7 separate regions of the Homo sapiens genome follow, and regions 1, 2, 3, 5, 6 and 7 are each linked to region 4. The links are contacts of gene promoters, found by promoter capture Hi-C in human tissues and cell types (Jung and others, 2019). All regions are on one chromosome and are shown on one strand. The core of a region is centred on a gene start or on the middle of the fragment in contact, and the rest is flanking DNA. Distances in the headings are between cores, read along the strand shown. Region 1 has its middle 61 kb from the start of LINC01915. Region 2 overlaps LOC105372029 (a long non-coding RNA gene). Region 3 has its middle 220 kb from the start of SS18. Region 4 holds the start of ZNF521 (zinc finger protein 521). Region 5 overlaps LOC105372028 (a long non-coding RNA gene). Region 6 overlaps LOC105372028 (a long non-coding RNA gene). Region 7 has its middle 210 kb from the start of SS18.

Region 1 (2,908 bases), core at 256-2,755, 780 kb before region 4:
AGACATTCAAAGTCTGCCAGTTTCTCTCACAGAACTTTGCAACAGGGATGATTTTGTTTAGGAATATATATATTCCTCTCTGAGATGTCCATTTGCTTTTACTAGCAAAGATTAAATGTTTAATCTTTAATGTTTAATATATATATGGATTTTTATTTAGATATATATGGCCTATATATATTTCTGTTTAAAGTTTGCTGAGAGGTTAATTTGCCATTCTAATTCACTATTCCTTAGTAAAAATTGGTTTGTCAGATAATTTGAATGGCACATCATAAAGCAGAGAGAGGGGACTTGAGGGAGTGGGAAAGTGAGTTTGGGTGGGGGAAGATGGCAGGCAAGATGCCTGGGACAGAGCTTCCTTCCGTCCCTCCGTCCCTCCTCCTCACTCCTTTCTTCCTCTCTGTCTCCTTCCCCTGCTGTCATGCATTCATCCAGTATTTGTGAAATAAGTACCAGATATGATATTGGGCACTGAGAATACAAAGATAACTAAGTGAAAATCTGGGCTCTCCGTGCAGCTGCAGCCAGCCACTGTAGACGAGGAGAGAGAAAGGCCATGTCACCAGTTGAGTGCTATGGTAGCCAGCAGAATCAGCCACCTCACCTGGACTTCCTGGGAGAGGGCTGCCTGTTCACATCATGAAGGTCAAATGCAAAGAGCCTGGCATGCTTGCGCTGTCTCCTGGGAATGGCAGCCCAATAAGTGGGGTGAGTAGCGGAAGGAACTCCAAGGTTACATGTGCCCCCACTCAAAAATGCCCACTGACCTGGAAACAGGCCACCCTACAAGTGTCCGGCGTGACTCTGCCTCTCCCCACCTGTGTGGCCTCAACCACATCTCATTACCTCTTGGGCCTCATTGCACCCATCTGTGCCTTGCAGGCCTTGGCTCAGATGCCCTGTCCTGGCATTTCCCATTTCCGCCTCAACTCTTTAGAGTGGACACAGTGGAGTGTGCGCGTCTCCATACTCACACTGCCTCAGAATCTAGGGTTCCGATAACTTTGCTGGGAGGAGTTTGAAAACCTTGCTTGTTGAAACCCAGTTTCACAATTTCCTTGCTTCACTTTGCAAAGAGCCAGGGCATTTTATTTGCTACCCACTGCTTAATCGTGATAACTCACAGCACAGTAAAGGTCTTATTGAGGAAGAAAAGGCTTTGATCACCTTTAACAACACTTGGAAATCACTCTAAGTGCCTCTGCTAATTCTTACCTCTTTTAATAGTGTTGATATGTTCAGTCACCTCTGTCCCACCCACTTACACACCCTGCCTAGGGTTCCTCAGGCACAGATGTTCACTGACTTAATTGTCTTAGAAGCTATTGTTAAAATAATGTCTGTGATATCAATAGTGTTGCGTGTCTGAGTGCAGCTTGTAGGGAAGGAACAGTGCTGTAAGCCCATGACTCAGGCCCTCATTCTGGGCCTGGAGCTTCCTTTCCCATCCCCTGCAGTGGAGACAGTGGAGTGAGAACCCAGCTCTGTTTCTTGGCCTAAGGGTATCAGTGAGTCGACCTGGCTGGGGGCTGGGTTGGGGAAGAGAGGGGCCATGACTCATGCACTCTTGTGCTTCTTTCAGGAGTATAAGAGAGACTTTCCCACTTGATCTCAAGCCAGAGGAGATCCTTGTTAGGCCACAACATGGCCTCCGTTCTCGTGTACAGCCCCACTCTGCCCACTCTGGGTCTGCTTTACATAGTGTCTCCTTTTTCTGTCTCCCAAGGAGTGAGATTCTGCCAGACTGGGGTGTTTTAAAATAGAGTGCCTTAGGCCAGGCATGGTGGCTCATGCCTGCAAACCCAGCACTTTTGGAGGCCACAGCAGGAGGATCATATGAAGCCAGGGGTTCAAGACCAGTCTGGGCAATATAATGGGACCCTGTTTCTATAAAAAGTAAAAAAGAAAAAAAAAATTAGCCAGGTGTGGTGGTGTGTGCCTGTAGTCCCAGCCACTTGGGAAGCTGAGTGAGGAGCATTGCTTGGGCCTAAGACTTTGAGGTTACAGTGAGCTATGATCACGCCACCACACTTCTGCCTGGGTGACAGATCATGTCTAAATATATACATATTTACTACCAGTTCCTAAGAAGAGGGGGCACACCATGCTGGTGGGAAGTGGGGTCGGAGGTGGGGGCACATGGGGAAGGACCAGGGTGTGTCAGGAGATAGATGGAGAGGGAGGAGCTGTTCACAGAGCCCTTATTGTGGTTTCTGTGGAAGGAATGGGCAAGAGAGGTTAAGCAGATTTTGGATAATTTTAGGGTAGCTTGAAGAATTTCAATGGGCTCTGGGTCATAGGTACTGTCCCTAGTTGTCTGGTACCTGGCTGTGGGGTGATTAAGGCAGGGGGTAGTGGCCCAGAGTGTGAGAGCTGGTAGAAGAGGTGGTGGGGGCTTTGGCTCTGGATTGGTTTGTATTTGAAAAGCAGCTCTCAGGAGGGTTGTTTACTCTCTCTAGGAACTGGCTAATCCTGGGAGAGGCAGTCTCTCCAAAGTCAGCAAGACCCCAGATGTCAAGTCATCCGAATACAGAAAATATGTGGTTAATATATGGGGACATTATCACCTAAGACCAGACCAGGGTCCTCGAGGCCACCTATCTTTGTTTCTTTCTTTCTTTCTTTTTTGAGACAGAGTCTCTCTCTGTCGCCTAGGCTGGAGTGCAATGGTGTGATCTCGGCTCACTGCAACCTCTGCCTCCAGGTTTCAAGCGATTCTCCTGCCTCAGCCTCCTGAGTAGCTAGGATTACAGGCATGCACCACCATGCCTGGCTAATTTTGTATTTTTAGTAGAGATGGGATTTTGCCATGTTGGCCAGGCTGGTCTTGAACTCCTGACCTCAGATGATCCGCCTGCCTCAGCCTCCCAAAGTGCTGGGATTACAGGCATGAGCCACCGCATCC
Region 2 (3,029 bases), core at 314-2,813, 550 kb before region 4:
GCAGATCTGCTTTTATAGTGGGCCCAGGAGGCAGCAGGACAAAGCCACTTCCTTCCATGGACTCATCCCTCTCTCCACTCCCTCCCTTATATTTGCATCCTGTCCATCAGAGGGCACAGTTGCCCTGATGAAGGCACAATCAAGATGGGAAACAAGAATTTTGTCAGCCACTTCCATGGACCCCCTATTTTGCTGCACAGTTCCTCTTTCATGCCTCTTACCCTGCTGTGCTCTCTCTGTCCGTCAGACTCTGCCTGCCTTCCCCAAGTCCTTTCCTCCATAGAGCTGTACCCTACTCCCACTGCAGTCCTTCCATATCTTAGCCCCTGCCTGCCTTTACCTTGGCCTCCCCTACCCCTCCATTAAATCCTACCTCTCCCGTGTACCATTTTATTGGAGCCTGCCCTTTGCTCAGTGATAGCTGGCTAATATGAGAAACTAATCTGTTTTAATGTTTTAATGTGTTACCACTCGCTAGCCTCTGCTAGCAACTTAATGAGATTTTGAGTTTTGCTTGTCTCATCACAGGTCCTCTATTCAATTATAAACTCGGTGAGGGGGAAGTGCCATTTGCTATTTCTTCCTTAACTCCCATAGCAGCCACAGAGTGCTGGACTCGGAGTACTCTACATTGACGTTGTTGAATGAATTAAAGGAAGGGGGAAGTAGGTGGCTAGACCTGAGTGGAGAGAAGGTAAACAAATACTATGACACAGTTGTTTTTCAGGTAATGCCAGTAAAATAGATTGGCAAGAGAAACTGGCAAGTCCTTCCTAAAAAGAAGTTTCAAAATAACCAGAGAGCATGCATGAACTCAACTCAATCTTCAATAAAGTTTGCTTTAACTAAACAGCAGCAACAAAACCAATAATACTATACATTAATTATTTGGCTAAAAACCGGTCCTGAGATCAAAGGTTTCTGGTGTGTGTTCCATCTTTAAGAGTCCAAAGCAAAAATGCAGACAAAATGTATGTGTCATTAACCCCCATGGGTACTGCAGAAATGCATTACCTGCAGGTTTGGTGAATGTAGTTTCTTGCAAGTTGAAATACAGGGAATGAAGAATCCAGCATGGCACTGCCCAGTAGAACTCTCTGTGCTGGAAATGTTTCTGTCCCTGCCCTGTTCAAGACAGTAGCCACAGGGCACTTGAAATGTAGCTAGCAGGACTGAAAATTTAAATTTTTTCACTTTCATTTAATTTTACTTTACAAAGTTAAAAAACAACTTCATATTTAAATAGCCTTACATCATTTAAATAACCTTCTTACTTGAAGTGTTCTCCAAAGATTGGGAATTCTGGGATAATAATAATTATGTGATTTTTAGACAATAATAATTATATTATTTTGAATAATTTTTTTATTACATGACAGAATAATATCTACTATTAAAGATGCGGAATCTCAAGATCCATCCATGAGCTACTGAATCTTCAGTTTAATAATGTTCCAGGTGATTCCTAAACACCTTAAAGTTTGAGATGTCCTTCTCCAGATCAATGGATCTCATCCCCATTCGAATCACCTGGAGAACTAGAATCACCTGGATGGTTTTAAAACAGTTCTGATGCCTGGTCTCCACCATGGGCCAACTGAATCAGAAATCAGCTTGGCCACCCACTAGTCTGAGGAAGGAATTCTCCTTAGAATTTGTTTAAGAAACTTAAAAAGGTTGGAGTATATATGCAATAAGGAAATGAAAAGGATTGAATGACACTTAAAAATGTAGACAATTTTACATCAAAGAGCCACAAGTATGCATGTTAGTCTCAAATAGTGTACTCAGAAAAGAGGAACACAGCTGTCATATTGAAAATATTCTCTTTACCCATCAAAATCAGAAACACTCTTAAGGCATGATAAGTGGTTAGTTTCTCTTAGCCTAGGAGGCCTGGTCTTGGTTTGGGGAGCATTGGGTTGGAGCTTATGTGATGTTAGTGCCCAGGCAGCCAAGGAATGTTACTAGTTTTAAGAGTCCAGGACTGTTCAGTCAGGGTGAAGTTGAGCACATTGAGCCCAGTAAAAAAGGAAAGGGGGGGTTGAGAAGATGACAGATGACTCCAGGGCGCTTGAAGAAATTCATGTGACTCCAGGAGACATGAATTTCCATGGGAACCATGTGCTAGGATATGTGACCCAAAGTGAAGGATCAATTTTTCAGACACCAAAGACACACACAAACAAGTCCTAGCTTCAGGCAGAGAGGAGCAGGAGAGTCCTCATTCGTGTTGGTCAGAAGATTTCAGTGGGAAAGGCTGTCTGCAGGCTGTACCTTTTTACTGAGAGGACTTAGATTTGGGAACATCCTCACTGCTTTCCATCCACCATCCAAGCTCAGTGAGCCTAGAACACCATTCAAGGAATGTTCTGGGCCCTTCTCTTGGGCTGTATTTGGGAAGGTAGGAAGTTACTATGGTGATTGAAAACAATCCTCTTTCTGATCTCTTCCTTTTCTGATAAGGAACACGTTTCATTATGATTTGTGCTGTAAAATAATTACCTTTTTGTGCTGAAGTCAAAATTTTCAAAACAGTATTGTATAAATGAGGATTGAAAAGGTAAGTTTCATAATGGACCAGGAATAGGCCTGCAGACCATGGGAAGGGGTTGAATATGCCATGCTGGAAGGGTACCATGGAATAAACCACCTACTTAGATAAGGAAGGTCAAAAGGGGCATTCATCCTGATTGCAACTAAATTCAACAATAAGTTTTTATTAAATAGTTGCAGAGTGCACACACTGTTCAGGTACTGGAGATACAGTGGTGAACAAAACAGAAAGTCTTATGACCTCTCGTTACTTACCGACTAGTCAGTGGCCCCAGATGTAAAACATGCAGATAAATAAATATATATTATAATGAACACCTACAAATTGAGATAAGGCCTCTAAAAGAGAATTACAAAAAAGAGAACACAGGAGGCTGGTAATTTAAATTTTGGCAGAAAGGATTAGAAAATAAGATGGTGGGTTTCACTTAACAGTCAGAAAGCCTCATACAGATTTGGACCCATCAGAAATA
Region 3 (2,960 bases), core at 315-2,814, 520 kb after region 4:
GGGTATGGTGAGAAAACTGACTGATACCTCTGAGGTTACAAAGAAAATGTTGAAAATTGTCCACTTTACAAATAAATGCAGAATTGTCTAGAATTCCATAAGAATTCTAAAAGAACTGAAAAATAAGAAAGAATTTTTGTTCTAAAACTGAGCTATTTTAAATGCTTTTTGTTATACAAGCTATAAGATCCCATTATTAAAAATGTATAAAATAGAGAAAAGAAAATCCACCCGTGGTTCCACCATCCAAACATAGTCACTGTGATGAAAAAAACTCTCGACGTTTAAAATTACCGAGAATCTGTTTTCCTGCTATAGAAAGAACTGTTTCTAAATTGTCAATGAGCTAATAAAAACCACAAAGTTCAGTGATAACAGGTAACCAGGACCCAAATAATGATTAGTTCTTCATAGTAGCATCAACAACATACTCTCCATAGAGCCCTCCCCATCCCAACCTTCAAGACATAATCTCAACCCCTTTCCTCCATTCTATTCCTTCTCCCTAGTTTCTCTTTCTCTCTCCCTTTCTTAATTGGCTATAATATAATTACAACTTATGCTGATTGAGCCCTGTGCTGAGCACCCTGTGAGTAGGTACTATTATATTTTAATGTTACCAGTGAGAATCTGGAAGCTTAGAAAAGGAGTGTGGCCAATTGTTATTATTGTGATCCCAAATTTATTCACAGCTCTCTATATGTATGCCTATTCAAAAAGTGGCATCTATTTCTCTAGGATTCTTTTTTTTTTTTTTTTTTTTTTTTTTTGAGATAGAATCTTACTCTGTTGCCCAGGCTGGAATGCAGTGGTGCAATCATAGCTCTCTACAGCCTCGAACTCCTGGCCTCAAGGGATTCTCCCACCTCAGCCTCCCAAGTAGCTAAGACTATAGGTGCACACCATCATGCTTGGCTGATTTTTTTTTTAAGAGATGGGGTCTTCCAGCTTCATCCATGTCCCTACAAAAGACATGAACTCATTGTGGGGTGGGGGGAGGGATAGCATTAGGAGATATACCTAATGTAAATGAGTTAATGGGTGCAGCACACCAACATGGCACATGTATACATATGTAACAAACCTGCACGTTGTGCACATGTACCCTAGAGCTTAAAGTATAATAAAAAAAAAGAGATGGGGTCTTGCTATGTTGTCTGAGCTGGTCTCAAACTCCTGGCCTCAAGCCATACTCCCACCTGAGCTTCCAAAAACATTGGGATTACAGGCATGAGCCACAGCATCCAGCCTTCTAAACCTTAAATTTGGTCTTAGTCATGTGAATTAATTTATTTCATGGGACAATAGCAAATGAGACATAAGTCAAGGCTTGATAGATGCTTGCTCATTGGAGCTTACCCTCTCTTGCTGCTGAGAACTTTCAGCCACCATATAAAAAAACCCAGCCTAGCCTGTTAGATGAAGAGAGAAGACATAGAGAAGGGCCCTACCCAAGGCCCTAGACGTGTGAGTGAGCCCAGCCAACACTGTGTGGAGCAAAATGATGCTGTCCCAGTTGAACCCAGCTGAACTGTCAACCCATCAAATCATGTACAAATACATCGTGATTTTTTTCAGCTACTGAATTTTGGGATAGTTTGTTACACAGCCAAAGCTAACTGACACAAGTATTTTGCTAAAAGTCACACAGGCAGGATTAAGATTCAAGCCCAGATGGCCTTTACTCTAGAGCTCAAGTACTTAACCCCATGTTATACTGTGGAACTCCCATGAATCTAGTTGGTACCATGCATGTAATCAATGCCCAACCATGATGCAGAGTCCCCTTAAAGACAAACATAATGATGAGTTATCTGTCAAGCTGGGGCCAAAGATGGGCCCATTTCCTGTGTTGCCGTTAGTAGCTCATTTTTAAATTCAGGCCAGAGGCACCTGGGAAATAATTAGCTGCAGTGTTGCTGTCCTCCCATAACAAATTTGAGGGCAACTCTTTATTTTTGCTAAAGCTAAACAGTTTGTGGCAACAAATGTTACTTACACTTTTCTAGGAATAGAAATGTATTTACTTTTAATCAGTTGGGGACTCATTAGTGAGGCTGTCTTTATCTCCCTGAGTTTTTGCCTTCTTTGCTTGTTTTTATTGTGGTTTTGTTTTTGGTTTGTTTTCTGCTTTTTTTTTTCTTTTTGCCCTATATTGGTGTTTTCTTTGTTTTCTACAGAACCCTCTGAAATAAACTATAATGGGCTGAACAAATCAGAAACTGAAGCAACGTCAATTGCAATTTCAGAGTCAGCCCTTATAATCTACCCGTTTCCACAATCCTTCCCTATGCCTTACAAAAATGAAGGAATAACTGATAATTTAAAATCAAAAGGCTAAAATTCAAATAATTGAGCTGTATGAAGCATCAATCTGGTGCAAAGCCACTAATGAGAAATTCTGGTAAAGACCATACACCAAAGCATTTCTCAGAAACATGAAGCTTTTAAAATATTTTTCCACAATAACAGACTCTGAAAAGATTTACAGACGTAAAACCAAACAGAATGAAATATTTTGTTATATAATAAACTAAGGTCATGTGGAGAAGCAAATTTGGGTTACTAAATCTGAAAAACAATTATCACTATAACTAACTTGGGTAGCCTGAAGTGAATCAGTTTTTTTTTTTTTTCTCTTATTTTCTCTACCTGTAAAATGGGTCTCATAACCGTTGTGTTTTGGAATGATCAACAGTAGTGTTTCAGATAGTATGACTTGGGAAAAGTCTGTCTTTGAAATTCCAGTGATTCTTAAGGATTTTTTTTTTTTTTTTTTTTTGACAGAGTCTCGCTCTGTCGCCCAGGCTGAAATGCAGTGGCACCATCTCGACTCACTGCAACTTCTACCTCCCAGGTTCAACTGATTCTCCTGCCTCAGCCTCCTGAGTACCTGGGATTACAGGCACCCACCACCACACCAGGCTATTTTTTGTATTTTTAGTAGAGTCGGGGTTTTG
Region 4 (3,131 bases), core at 45-2,544:
TGGGGGAAAGCGGGGAGCAGGGGGTTCCTCCTTACCTTTGAGGGATCTCGGTTTCGCTTGCTTGCGGCGAGACATCCTAAAAGCAAACAGCTGAAGTTGTTTCAATTCAGCCCTGAAAGAAACTATACTTCCTCGTGGCCGCGCGCCCCTCGGGCCGCGGCGCCTCGCGCCCTCCGCTCGGCCTCCCTCGCGCCCTCGCTCCGCGCTCCGCTCCTCGCTCCGGCTCCGGCTCGCGCTCGCGCGCGGGGCTCGCGGCTGCCCGAGCTCCGCGCTCTGCACGACGGCGGCGGCGGCGGCGGCGGCTGCTGCACCAAACTTTCCCAGCCTTCGACCCCCACCCCCAATCTCCAAGAAAAAAAAAAAAAAAGGAAAAAGAAAAAAGGAAAGGAGGGAAAAAAAGCTAAAAAAAAAACCCCAAAGACAATGTTTGAAGAGCCGTCAGCTACACTAAAAAGAGAAAATCCGTTACTATTTCCACCTCAATCAAAATTCACATAGTTCATGCGAATAGAAAAAAACTAATAAAAAGAAAAGCGTCTGGGTGATTTTTTTTTTCTTTACCGCTTTTCCTTTTCAACAAATCCGCCCCCCCCCCCACCGGAAAAAAACAAATAACACTGATTTGTTTACAAAGCGAGTCGTGCTCTTTTGTAGTTGGGGGGACGAGGGGGGGAAATCGACCCTGCAAGGCGATGAAAAGGTCTTGGAAAGAAAAATCTCCCACCATCCGAGGCAGATGCGAACGGGCCACGAAAATAAGCAAAGGGAAAAAAATACTTTTTTTCTCCCTTCCCCCCACCCTTTTTTTCTTAACCCACACTAAAGTAATTTCTTTCAAAAAGAAAAAGCCAAAGCACCCGAGCCGACGGCCCCCAGGTGGTGTGCGGGGCTGCTTGTGTGCAGGGGGTGTGCGGGGCCCGGGCTCGGGGCGCCCCTCTCTGGGCGGGGGCGCGGCGCCGGCGGCTGGCGCTGGACCGGGGCTCTAAAGTCTACGGCTGCCTCGGCAGCGGCGGCGGCAGCAGCGGCGGCAGCGGCGGCGGCAGCGGCGGCGAGAGCAGGAGGAGGAGGAGGAGGAGAGCCGGGAGCAGGAGGAGGAGAAGGAGTGTGCTGTGTGCTCCCTCCTCATCACAAACCTGCAAGGTCTTGGACTGCGCTGTCGCTCCGGTAGTCCACATAATAATGGAAAATGGAAGCAAGGCCCCCAAAGCCATCAGGATGGCTCCAGAGGGGGCCCCTAACCCGCAGGGACTCGCTCTGTACGTAATCACTGAGGAAATCATTGTCAGCCTGCCTGCACTCACACACAGACAGAGGGGCATGATTAAAAGGCGAGAGCGCGGGGAGCGGGAGGGAGGAGGGGGCCCGCCAAGACCCGGACTGGAGGCGCCGGCCGCGGCGCGCGGATCCGGAGCCAGGCGGCGGCCGAGCGCCCCGAGCCCCGCCCGCCGCCGCCGCCGCCGCCGCCGCCTCCCACGCGCCGCGCGCCCCGCCCGCTCCTGCGCCGCCGCCCCTCGCGCCGCCCGCCCGGCCGCTCGCACACCCCGCGCCGCCGCCGTCGCCGCCGCCGCAGCTGCGTTATTAGAGCTCCACGGCGGATCTCGGGGCTCTTCTGCTCGCTTTTTTTCCTCTTCAGAAATTAAAGCAGAGGAGCATCTGAAAGTGGAAAGGTCCCCCTTCTGGTAGGATGGATGTAAAAGGAGGCAACAATTTGTTCTTGAGGGGGCAAAAAAAAAAAAAAAAAAAAAGAAAAAGAAAAAGAAAAAGAAAGGAGGGGGGAAATTCATTGCTTGGCTTTTGCATTGTCGGACTTTAAAAAAGTGTGTCTGCTGTTGTTGCCCGGACTCGGGAAATCTTTTTTATGGCAACCGCAGACCTGCCAAGTCTCTCTTACTTGGAATCTTTATAAAGGCAAGTTATTTGGACTTTTTTTTTATTTTCTCGTTTAGAGAAAGTCATTGATGCTGACGAATGTCATAATGTGATTCAAAAGAGACAGCTTTGAGTTCACTTTTTTAACATTCTCAAATTGACATAGATCTTTGTCCAGAAAATAAAGCTTTCTGTTGATTTTTTCTTTAAGCAAGAGGTAAGGAAATATGCACTTAAGAATATGTGTACAAGAAAATAGTTTCTAAAATAAATTGAAATGTCTGCAGGTCGGTGGGAATTTTTGTTTCTTTTCGCAGTTTTGTTTTCTAACTTTTCACCTGCTCCCATCGCAAAACAAGAAACCATCACCTGTTTCCTTCTTTTACCTTATCTTAAGGGAAAGGATGTTTTAGTATTATTATTGTTGTTGCTATTTATTGATTGGACACGCTTGTCAAGTTATAAATGCCTGAGAGGGCTACCAAGTAGAGCTTAGATTCACAAGTCTTGGTGGAAATTAAGAGATTCAGAATACGGTTAATTACACAAAACAGGCAGAATTTTGTACAAATACTATTGTTCTTAATCAGATTTTAAAAATTCTCCGTTCTGTAAAATTAAGGTACAGCTATCTATTAAGCCACCATGCAAAGACATCAAAGCTTTAAGGAAGTTGTATTTTTTCCAGTCTAACCTGTAAACTGCCTGGACCCTCATGTGGATAGCTGCAAATACAGTATGTTTTTTTTCAATATCTTCATTATAATTAAATGAGTTTTCAATCCATCTGCAGTAATTCCTAAAGTGAAATCATAGTTGTAGTCAAATTTAACTTTGCATGACTGTGAAATAAAGCAACTTTTGTTGCAGAATCTGTGTTGGTACATTAAGGATTCTAGATTTTATACATAACCTTATACATTCATTTTCACAGAAATCATTCAGAAAGGGAAAAATGTGTAAACACCAAGTTTTTACAAGACTTTCCTTTCGTGTGGTAGCCATATGTGTGCAGAATACTATGGTGCCATGTATGTGTGGTCCCAAGTTATGTGTGATATTATCTAAAATATTGATGGCATCTAATCCTGGTTTTATTGGAAAGTGAAAAATTGCTAACGTAATACTAACGCGTACCCTAATTTGTTAAAGTTTTCTATATGGGTTGATTTTTTTTGTTTCTTTCTCAAAGTAGTCTACTTTGCTTTACTCTAAAATTGTTCTTTCATTTCCCAATGTTAGTATTTCTGTTGCCTTCCTCT
Region 5 (3,006 bases), core at 336-2,835, 590 kb before region 4:
CTATATCCTTACCAGCACTTGGTCCTATCTTTTTGTTTGTTTGTTTTTTATTCTAGTCATTTTAGTAGGTGTGTAACGGTGTCCTGGTGTGGTTTTACTTTGCATTTCTCTATTAACTAATTATGTTGAACAGCATGTCTTTATTTGTCATCAATATATCTTCTCTAGTGAAATGCCTATTTAAATATTTTGCCCATTTGTGTATGTGTAAGTGGTGTTGTTTCTTTTGTGGAGTTTTGAGAGTTCTTTGTATATTCTGAATACAAGTCCTTTGTAAGGTACATGACTTGTAAATATTATCTGTAGCTTGCCTTTTCATTGTCTTAACAATGTTTTTTACAGAGCAAGCATTTTTGTATTTGATAAAGCCATGTTTGTCTCTTTTTAAAAATAGGTTGTGCTTTTGGTGTCTTATTTAATAAGTTTGCATAGCCCAAGGGTTACTAGGATTTTCTTTTGGAAGTTCTATAGTTTTATATTTTATATTTAGATCTATGATCTAAATTTTTGTTTAAATCGTGAGGTACAGGTCAAGGTTCATTTTCTAACATGTGGATTCCAACTGTTTCAGCATCATTTGATGAAAGCTACTATGCTTTCTTTAATGAATTGTCTTTGCACCTTTGTCTAAAGTCAATCGGCCATATTTGTGTGGATCTATTTCTAGGCTTTCTATTGTTGCCCATTGATTTATGTGTCTAGCTCTTCACCAATACAACACTGTCTTGATGATTGTCACTTTAGAGTAAGTCTTAAAATAGGTTAGTGTGAGTACTCCAACTTTGATCTTCTTTTTCAAAATTATTTTAGCTATTCTAGTCACTTTGCTTTTTTATATAAGTACACGGATCATAGGTGTACAGTTTGCTTAACTTTTGGAAAAGTGAAAATCTCATGTAGTTACATCCAGATCAACACTGTATATTATCAGCATCCCAAAAGTCTATTTCATACCCTTGGTAAGTTATTACCTCTCCACTGCCCACTACCCACCTTTGCCCATAGAAAACATTAATTCTGACTTCTACACCAAAGATTATATTTGTCTATTTTTGAAATTTATACAAATGGAATCATGCAATATATTCTCTTGGATGTCTGTGAGATAAGACATCTCTGAAATTCATCCTAATTATTACACGTGGCATAGTTTGTTTTTTGCATTGCTGACAATAGTATTAATTTTTAATAATACACCCTAATTCATGTATATATTCTGTTTTAATAAGAAATTTGGGTATTTTTAAGGCTATTAGAAATATTGCTGCTAAATCAAACCACAATGAGATACCATCTCATACCAGTCATAAAGGCTATTATTAAAAAGTAAAAAAATAACAGATGCTGGTAAGGTTGTAGAGAAAAGGGAATGCTTGTACACTATTGGCAGAAGTGTAAATTAGTTCAACCATTGTGGAAAGCAGTGTGGCGATTCCTCAAACAGCTACAAACAGAACTACCATTCAACCCAGCAATCCCCTTACTGGGTATGTAACCAAAGGAACATAAATCGTTCTACCGTAAAGACACATGCACGCATATGTTCATTGCAGCGCTATTCACAATAGCAAAGGCAAGGAATCAACCTAAATGGCCATCAATGGCAGATTGGATAAAGAAAATGTGGTATATATGCACCATGGAATACTATGCAACCATAAAAAAGAATAAGATCGTGTCCTTTGCAGGAACATGGATGGAGATGGAGGCCATTATCCTTAGCAAACTAACACAGGAACAGAAAACCAATACTGCATCTTCTCACTTATAAATGATGAGAACACAAAGAGGGGAACAGCACACACTGGGGCCTGCTTGAGGGTGGAGGGTGGAAGGAGGGAGGGATCAGAAGACATAACTATTCAGTACTAAGCTTAGCACCTGGGTGATGAAATAATCTGTACAACAAATGCCTGTGACACAAGTTTACCTATATAACAAACCTGCACATGTACCCTTGAACCTAAAATGAAAGTTAAAAAAAGAAATATTGATGCTAGAACGTATTTTTACATATCTTAGTGAATATATGCATACATTTCCGTTGAGTTGCCTAGAAAAGAAATTGCTGGGTTATGGAATCGCTTATGTTTAGCCTTAGTCTATATTGTCCAACAGTTCTGCAAAGTGACAGTCATAAATGTAGCCAGTAAATTTAGTCAAGTTTAGGATCATAAGTTTGTTTGTATTAACTTCTTTTTAAATATTTCCAGAATCTGTAGTGATAGCCTCTTTCTTGTTTTTAGTATTAGTCATATGTGTCTCATTCTCTTTTTTCTTGATTAGTCCTTGCTAAATATTTATTAATTTTAATAGTATTTTCAAAGATTTGTTGCCTTTTTTTCTATTAGATGATTCCTTTCTATTTCAATAATTTTTGTTTTTATTTCTATTTTTCTCCTACCTACCTCCTTCTTTCTCTTGGGTTAATTTGCAGTTTTGCTAACTTGATGTGAATACCTGTGTTAGAGATGGTAAGTTTTTTTTTTTCATTTCTAGTTTATGCGTTTAAGACTACAAAATTCCCTCTAGCCTGTCTTTACTTGCAATAACATGTTTTCATCTAGGGTCATTTTCCTTGTGCCATTGTTGTTGTTGTCCCTGCTTGTTAAGTGCTCATTTGAAACTGTCTGCTTAGCCTTTATTTTTGAAAGCTATTTTCCTTGTGTACACAATTCTAGGTTGGCAACAATTTTCTTTTAGCTCTTTAAAGACATTTTTGTTCACTGTTTCTATTGAAAACTCAGCCATAGATATTGTATCTCTCTGAACATCATGTGTCTGTTTTCTGTCTCTTTATAAGATACTCTTTTTAGTGTTTGTGGGTTAGCTTTATCTGTATTTATTTTGCTCAGAATTTGTAGAATTTCAGTTTACTAATATCTTTTGCTTGTTTTGGAAAATTCTCACAATGTCTCTTCTGTTCAATTATCTCTCTCCTTTATAGACTACAACTACACTTATGAAAGTTATTTTCATCATGTTTCATATGCCTCTTAAGCTCTT
Region 6 (2,839 bases), core at 267-2,766, 610 kb before region 4:
TGTAATCAGTTAATGCTCATATAGAAAGCTCCAGGGCAGCCCAGGGATGATGCGGGCATGTTCCAGTTGGTGCCTTTCCTCTGTATCCTGCCTCTCGCTCTCTTCTTTCCCTGCTTATTCCCACACTACTACTTCCCAGTTTAATAAAATGAGAGGAGGCTGAAGAGGAGCTGATGGGCAGGTGGCTCTTATGACGTTCCATCCCCTCCTTCTTGTGTCTTTGTCTCTGCAAAGATGTAGCCGACATTAAAGGGGATCAAGAGAGGGATCCCCTCTCCTGCTGGGCCCAAGTGAGTTGTGTTCTGACTTGTCTTCTGAGTGTCAGCCAGGATGCTTTTGGTTCTAAGGGACAGAAACCCCCATTCCCACTGGGTTAAACAATAAAACACAATTTTTGGCTCCCGTATTTGCATAGTCTGTAAGTAGGGTATCTTCAGGGTGTCTTCAATGGTCCAAAAGCATAAACCAGGACCCAGTCTCTTTCCTTCTCTCTGTTCCACCTTTTACATTATCAGCTTCATATTAGGACTGGATCCCTTCATAGTCACAGAATAGGTGCCAATGCCATTGGTGTGGCAATGTAACTCATTATCCATGAAGAGACAGAGAGAGAGAGAAAACACAAGTGAGCTTTTTTGTGTGTGTGTGGGGGTGGGGGCTGGGGGGTGGGAAGAGATGTCTCAAAACCATGAAAATAAACCCCAGGCATTTCTTTGTTGAATTAATTTAAGTTCTATATCTCAACTAATTGCTAAATTGGATGTCTAGGGAGTGTTGGGTGCTAATTGGCTTATGCCAACAAGACCTAGCCCTGGAGCTGGAGGAGAAAGCAGGTGGGTAGAGAAGGAGAGGTGGCTCAAATAACATGCTGCTACTCAACGTGGAAGAGATGCCCATTACCTGTTCTTATTCCTTCTAAATAAACTCTACTTCATCTTCATGATCCAGTGTGATAACCCATTGATCTGTCATGTACGTAATACTAGGATTGGCAGGTATTGGCTTTATGAAATCAGTAACCTGTATTGTTGGTTATTTGTATTGTATCCACAGAGGCTCCACAACTGTCTCCATTCAGGGCGGTTGTGTGCCTGGTCATCTTTGGTACTGTCTATGCGTCGGGTCTCAGTAACTTAGCAAAGGATCAAAGATAGTGCTTTTCTTCTTCACCTAACTGTGGTAACATTTTCCTGGAACAGAACTGACATCCTAAGAGTGAAGCTTATTGGAATCTGGTAGGATGATAAAGGTATATATGCCACATGTTGGAAGTTTGAGTTAGAGAAATTTATTCTGTTCTGGAGTATCTGCTTGAGATATGGGCCATTGGCAGAACAAAGCTGCCTCTTTAGACAGTGTGCTTCTCTGGGTTGAATTGGATATTTTATCAGTTCCTTTCTCTCCTTCCCCTTCTGTTACTTTATTTTGTACCAGAAAAGAGAAGGAAATCAATCCACTAGCACATCTGTGTTTAAATAGGTTTGGTTGTGAAACTTACAAGTGTACCAGGGACTGCATCTACTTCCTGCTGGAAAGCACAGAGGATGAGAAGAATTCTAGGACCAAGGCAAAAATAAAATACAGATTATCATTATTAAGTGCTTACATGGTTTACTAATGAAGCAAGTGAGAAGTGTCAGTTTAAATTTCCACTATCACGTGGCAGTGGTGGTAATGGTTCGTCAAATGATAATGATGTTAACTGCTTGGTTTTCTGATGGAGAGGTGAAAGCCAGCTCTTACCTCCTGCTTTAAGATATTCTAGCATTCTCTAGCAGTGAAAGAGTTTGAAATGGCTATCACTGAATTATGATCATCATTTAAAATTTTCTCCACTAATGAAAATTGAGATGAGAAGCAAGACCTGAGCATGCGCTTTTCCACCTGGAGAGCAAGAAGAGACCTTGGGGAGAGTAGCGGTCACCACAACTGTAGGTTCAAGTCCTCTTCATGGCAACTTGTAGGAGCTCCAGGCTTGTGATCTAGTGCAGAGCAGGTAATTGGGATTCCTGGAGGCCTGAGGGATGCCAGACTTGCTCACATCTTACAAGTGAAGAATAATTCATTCGCTCCTTCTCCTTAAAGGAGCAGGTTAACTTGGGTCTGGGTCTCTTAGTTCTTGATGTACTGATTTGTTCTTCAAATGCTTGCATTCCTCGCTCAAGCAACTTAACACTTACAAAATTTCTCTTGCCAAACAACCTCTCTTTGTTTTACACACGATTTCTGTAGCTATATTAATATATTGACTCACTTGTGCTAACCTGATGCAAGTCTGTTTCCTTAAGGTGAGTTTGCCTATCTCTGCTCTTATATGTGCCCAGTCGTTTTTACAGTCGAAATATCAGAAGGCAGTTTTCTAAGATCTTTTTAGGGTGCACCTTATTTTTGACTTTCCTATCTGTCCTTGACCACTGCGCTTTTCCTTTCTGGTTTCCATTGTATCACTTCTTCTTGGCTCCCCTTGAACTCTTCTCGATCAGCTTCACCTCCACAACTCAGTTATTGAGTCAATCAACTGAATGCCTCTCCTTCAGGTGTCTGCTCCAAGCCTTCTCTGTGTCAGATAGGGCTGATGTCATTTGGGAAATTCCTCCTGTAACAAGCTGTCCCTGGAGAACCCTGGCAGATTAGGGAGAAGCCAAAGCCGCCAGTCTCCTGCAGGTATTTCCCACTTTTTCCTGCATGGCTTGGCATTATTTTCCCCTGTACTCTCACCCCGTACAGTAGTCTCCTTCCCCGACCCTGGTCATCCTCCATGTTTACCTCTGTTTTGCAGGTTTGCTTTTCAAGGGCCAGCATTATGTGTGCCTTTGAGAAAACCACAAAACTTTCCCCT
Region 7 (3,059 bases), core at 511-3,010, 530 kb after region 4:
AATATGTCAAGATCATACAGCTGGCAAGTGCCTGGGCTAGAACTAAACTCGGTTTCCTGAACAGCTGCTTTCCAAAGCCCCTGCTTTTTTTCTATGTAGTACTGCCTCCCTAGAAAGCACGTCCTACCTGGCAATTTTGCCTGGTGTTAGTCCTGCCAACAACCCCCAAATATCCTAATGGGCAAGCCTTTGGTAAACAATTGTTAGCCTACTGTGAGTCAAGTAAAATCTATTTACAGGTAATTGTTCAGCATGATTGGTTTTTGCTTGTGCATGAATTCAAAGCTCCTTCAATCCTGGTGTCTTTCAAAAATAAAAACAAAAACCTCAGCCCATAAATGAAATTAAACAACTTTCCCCTGAAATTTTTGGAGTCCCAAACTTGAGTAAGTATAAGCAACATCAATATCTATTTCAGCAAAAAAGAAAAGAAAAATGTGAATACAATGCAAACTTCAATTTTACAGGGTTATTTTTCTTTCTTCTGCCTTTTTTTAAAAAAACTACTCTGTTCAACCATTTTTTTTACCCTGTGCCAAAGAATAGGGGGGGAAGAGTAGGGGGGAAAATTAAAGCAAAAAGTGGCATTTTGTTTTTGTTCAGTGCACCTTTACATGCTTATAAAAGTCCATCTTCAAAAATCTTACCCACTGAAGGGAAGCAGAGCAAGATGGCCAAATAGAAACCTCCAGCAATCAGCTCCCCTGCAGGAACGCCAAATTAAACAACTTTCCACACACAAAAAAAGCACCTTTATAAGAACCAAATTTCAGGTGAGTGATCACAGTACCTGGTTTCAATATCATATGAAGGAAAGGGTAGGTAAGGCAGTCTTGAATTGCCTACACCACCCCTCCCCAGCCCCCAGCAGCAGCGGCATTGTGCAGACAATCTGCGTGGTTGAGGGAGGGAGAGCACAGTGATTGTGGGTCTTTGGATTGGAACTCAGTTCTGCCCCATCACAGCGGAAAGAAACACGGGGCAGAGCTCAGCCAGCAACCATGGAGAGAGCATACAGACCAGCCCTCACCAGAGGGGGATTACTCATCCCACCAGTCAGAAACTGAGTTCTGGCAAGTCCTGCCACCATGAGCTAAAGTGCTCTGGGGTTCTAAATAAACTTGAAAGGCAGTCAAGTCCACAAGGACTGAAATTCCAGGGCAAGTCCTGGTGCTATAGTGAGACATCAGCCTAGTGAGGCAAAAGAGTGTTTGTGTCGCCCCTTCCCCAGTCCCAGCCAGCACAGCTTGCAGCTCCAAAAAAGACTCCTTCCCTCTGCTTGAGGAGAGGAGAGAGTGAAGAGGACTTTGCCTTGCAACTTGGATACCAGCTCAGCCACAGAAGAATAGAGCACCAGGCAGAGTCATGAGGCCTTCCTTCATTCCAGGCCCTAGCTCTCAGATGACATTTCCAAACATGCCCTGGGCCAGAAGCAAGCCCACTGCCTTGAAGGAAACAACTCAGTCCTGGCAGAATTCACTACCTGCTGACCAAAAAGTCTTTGGGCCCTGAATAATGACCAGTGGTAGCCAGGAGTACTTGCCATGGGCCTTGGGTGGGACTCAGAGCTATGCTGGCTTCAGGTATGACCCAGCACATTCTCAGCTGTGGTGGCCATGGAGAAAGAACCCTTCATCTTGAATAAAGAAGAGGGAAGGGTCAAGGGGCCTTTGTCTTATAGCTTGGGTTCCAGCTCAGCTGCAGTGGGGTAGAGGAGCAAGTGGGCTCCTGGGGTCCTCGAATCCAGGCCTTGGCCCCTGGATGGCATTTCTGGACCTGCCCTGAGCCAAAGGGGAGCCCACTGCCCTTAAAGGAGAAACTCAAGACTGGCAGCATTCACCACAAGCTTACTGAAGAGCCTTGGGCCTTGAGTGGACATTGGTGGTAGCCAGGCAGTATTTACTGTGGGCCTGGGTTAGTGATGGGTATGGGGAGAGACTCTTCTGCTTTAGGAAAGAGGATGGAAGAGTGGGAATAACTTAGTCATCCAGCTTGGATGCCAGTTCAGCTGTAGTAGAATAGAGTAGCAGGTTGATTCCAAAGGTTCCCAACTCCAGGCCCTGGCTCCTGGATGGCATCTACAGACCCACCTGGGGGTGAGGGGAACTCATTACCCTGAAGGGAAAAACACAAGGCTGGCTGCATTTGCCACCTGCTGATTGTAGAGCCCTAGGGCCTTGAGTGAACATTGGCAGTAGCCAGGCAGTAGTCACTGTGGGCCTTGGGTGAGAGCCAGTGCTGTGCTGGCTTCAGGCCTGACCCAATGCAGTCCCAGTGGTGGTGGCCACAAGGGTTCTTGTGTCACCCCACCCTCAGCTCCAGGCAGCTCAGCACAGAAAGAGAGAGAGACTCTGTTGGGGGAAAGTAAAGGAACAGAACAAGAGTCTCTGCCTGGTAATCCAGGGAATTCTCCCTGATATTACCCAAGACAACCAAGACAGTACCTCTATGAGTCTGCAAGAGTCACAGCATTACTGGGTTTTGGTTGCCCCCTAAAGCAAATACAGCTTCAGTGACCAAAAACTTAGATCACAACACCCAAGTCTCTTGGAATATCTGGCCTTCCCAAGAAGAACAGGTACAAACAAGCCCAGACTGTGAAAACTACAATAAATACCTAACTCTTCAATGCCTAGGCACCAACAAATACCCACAAGCATCAGGACTATGCAGGAAAACATGATCTCATCAAACAAACTAAATAAAGCACTAGTGGTCAATCCTGGAAAGACAGAGGTACATATGTGACCTTTCAGACAGAGAATTCAAAATAGCTGTTTTAAGGAAGTTCAATGAAATCCAAGATAACATAGAGAAGGAAGTCAGAATCCTATCAGATACATTTAACAAAGAGATATAAATAATTGAAAAGAATCAAACAGAAATTCTGGAGCTAAAAAATGCAATTGACATATTGAAGAATGCATCAGAATCTCTTAACAGCATAATAGATTAAGCAGAAGGAGGAATTAGTGAGTTTGAAGACAGGTGATTTGAAAATACACAGTCAAAGAAGACAAAGGAAAAAAAGAATAAGAAAGAATAAAGCATGCCTATAA

The links. Contacts are between HindIII fragments. The study calls those that stand out against the background at their distance.
Region 1: a fragment that was not itself captured here is called in contact with the fragment with the promoter of ZNF521 in region 4 in 1 of the 25 tissues and cell types used here (mesendoderm cells).
Region 2: a fragment that was not itself captured here is called in contact with the fragment with the promoter of ZNF521 in region 4 in 4 of the 25 tissues and cell types used here (H1 embryonic stem cells, hippocampus, mesendoderm cells and 1 more).
Region 3: a contact is called between a fragment that was not itself captured here and the fragment with the promoter of ZNF521 in region 4, in 1 of the 25 tissues and cell types used here (IMR-90 fibroblasts).
Region 5: a contact is called between a fragment that was not itself captured here and the fragment with the promoter of ZNF521 in region 4, in 2 of the 25 tissues and cell types used here (IMR-90 fibroblasts and neural progenitor cells).
Region 6: a contact is called between a fragment that was not itself captured here and the fragment with the promoter of ZNF521 in region 4, in 1 of the 25 tissues and cell types used here (hippocampus).
Region 7: a contact is called between a fragment that was not itself captured here and the fragment with the promoter of ZNF521 in region 4, in 1 of the 25 tissues and cell types used here (H1 embryonic stem cells).

What each region holds. Positions count from the first base shown.
Region 1 is chr18:24,565,933-24,568,840 of GRCh38, forward strand. No RefSeq gene overlaps it. Among named protein-coding and RNA genes, the nearest start is that of LINC01915, 61 kb to the right of the region's middle. The HindIII fragment of the contact is 8,725 bases long and covers 1-2,908 here.
Region 2 is chr18:24,799,272-24,802,300 of GRCh38, forward strand. It overlaps LOC105372029 (a long non-coding RNA gene), which reads left to right. Exons shown (of 3, transcript XR_935298.2): 3 at 728-1,075. Among named protein-coding and RNA genes, the nearest start is that of LINC01915, 170 kb to the left of the region's middle. The HindIII fragment of the contact is 5,844 bases long and covers 1-3,029 here.
Region 3 is chr18:25,866,573-25,869,532 of GRCh38, forward strand. No RefSeq gene overlaps it. Among named protein-coding and RNA genes, the nearest start is that of SS18, 220 kb to the right of the region's middle. The HindIII fragment of the contact is 4,091 bases long and covers 1-2,960 here.
Region 4 is chr18:25,350,872-25,354,002 of GRCh38, forward strand. It overlaps ZNF521 (zinc finger protein 521), which reads right to left and starts at 1,295. Exons shown (of 8, transcript NM_015461.3): 1 at 1,134-1,295; 2 at 36-76. The coding sequence starts at 75. RefSeq lists a silencer at 1,321-1,390. The HindIII fragment of the contact is 6,455 bases long and covers 1-2,293 here.
Region 5 is chr18:24,758,903-24,761,908 of GRCh38, forward strand. The region is part of intron 2 of LOC105372028 (a long non-coding RNA gene); the gene reads left to right. Among named protein-coding and RNA genes, the nearest start is that of LINC01915, 130 kb to the left of the region's middle. The HindIII fragment of the contact is 6,342 bases long and covers 1-3,006 here.
Region 6 is chr18:24,737,498-24,740,336 of GRCh38, forward strand. The region is part of intron 2 of LOC105372028 (a long non-coding RNA gene); the gene reads left to right. Among named protein-coding and RNA genes, the nearest start is that of LINC01915, 110 kb to the left of the region's middle. The HindIII fragment of the contact is 3,952 bases long and covers 1-2,839 here.
Region 7 is chr18:25,883,509-25,886,567 of GRCh38, forward strand. No RefSeq gene overlaps it. Among named protein-coding and RNA genes, the nearest start is that of SS18, 210 kb to the right of the region's middle. The HindIII fragment of the contact is 5,297 bases long and covers 1-3,059 here.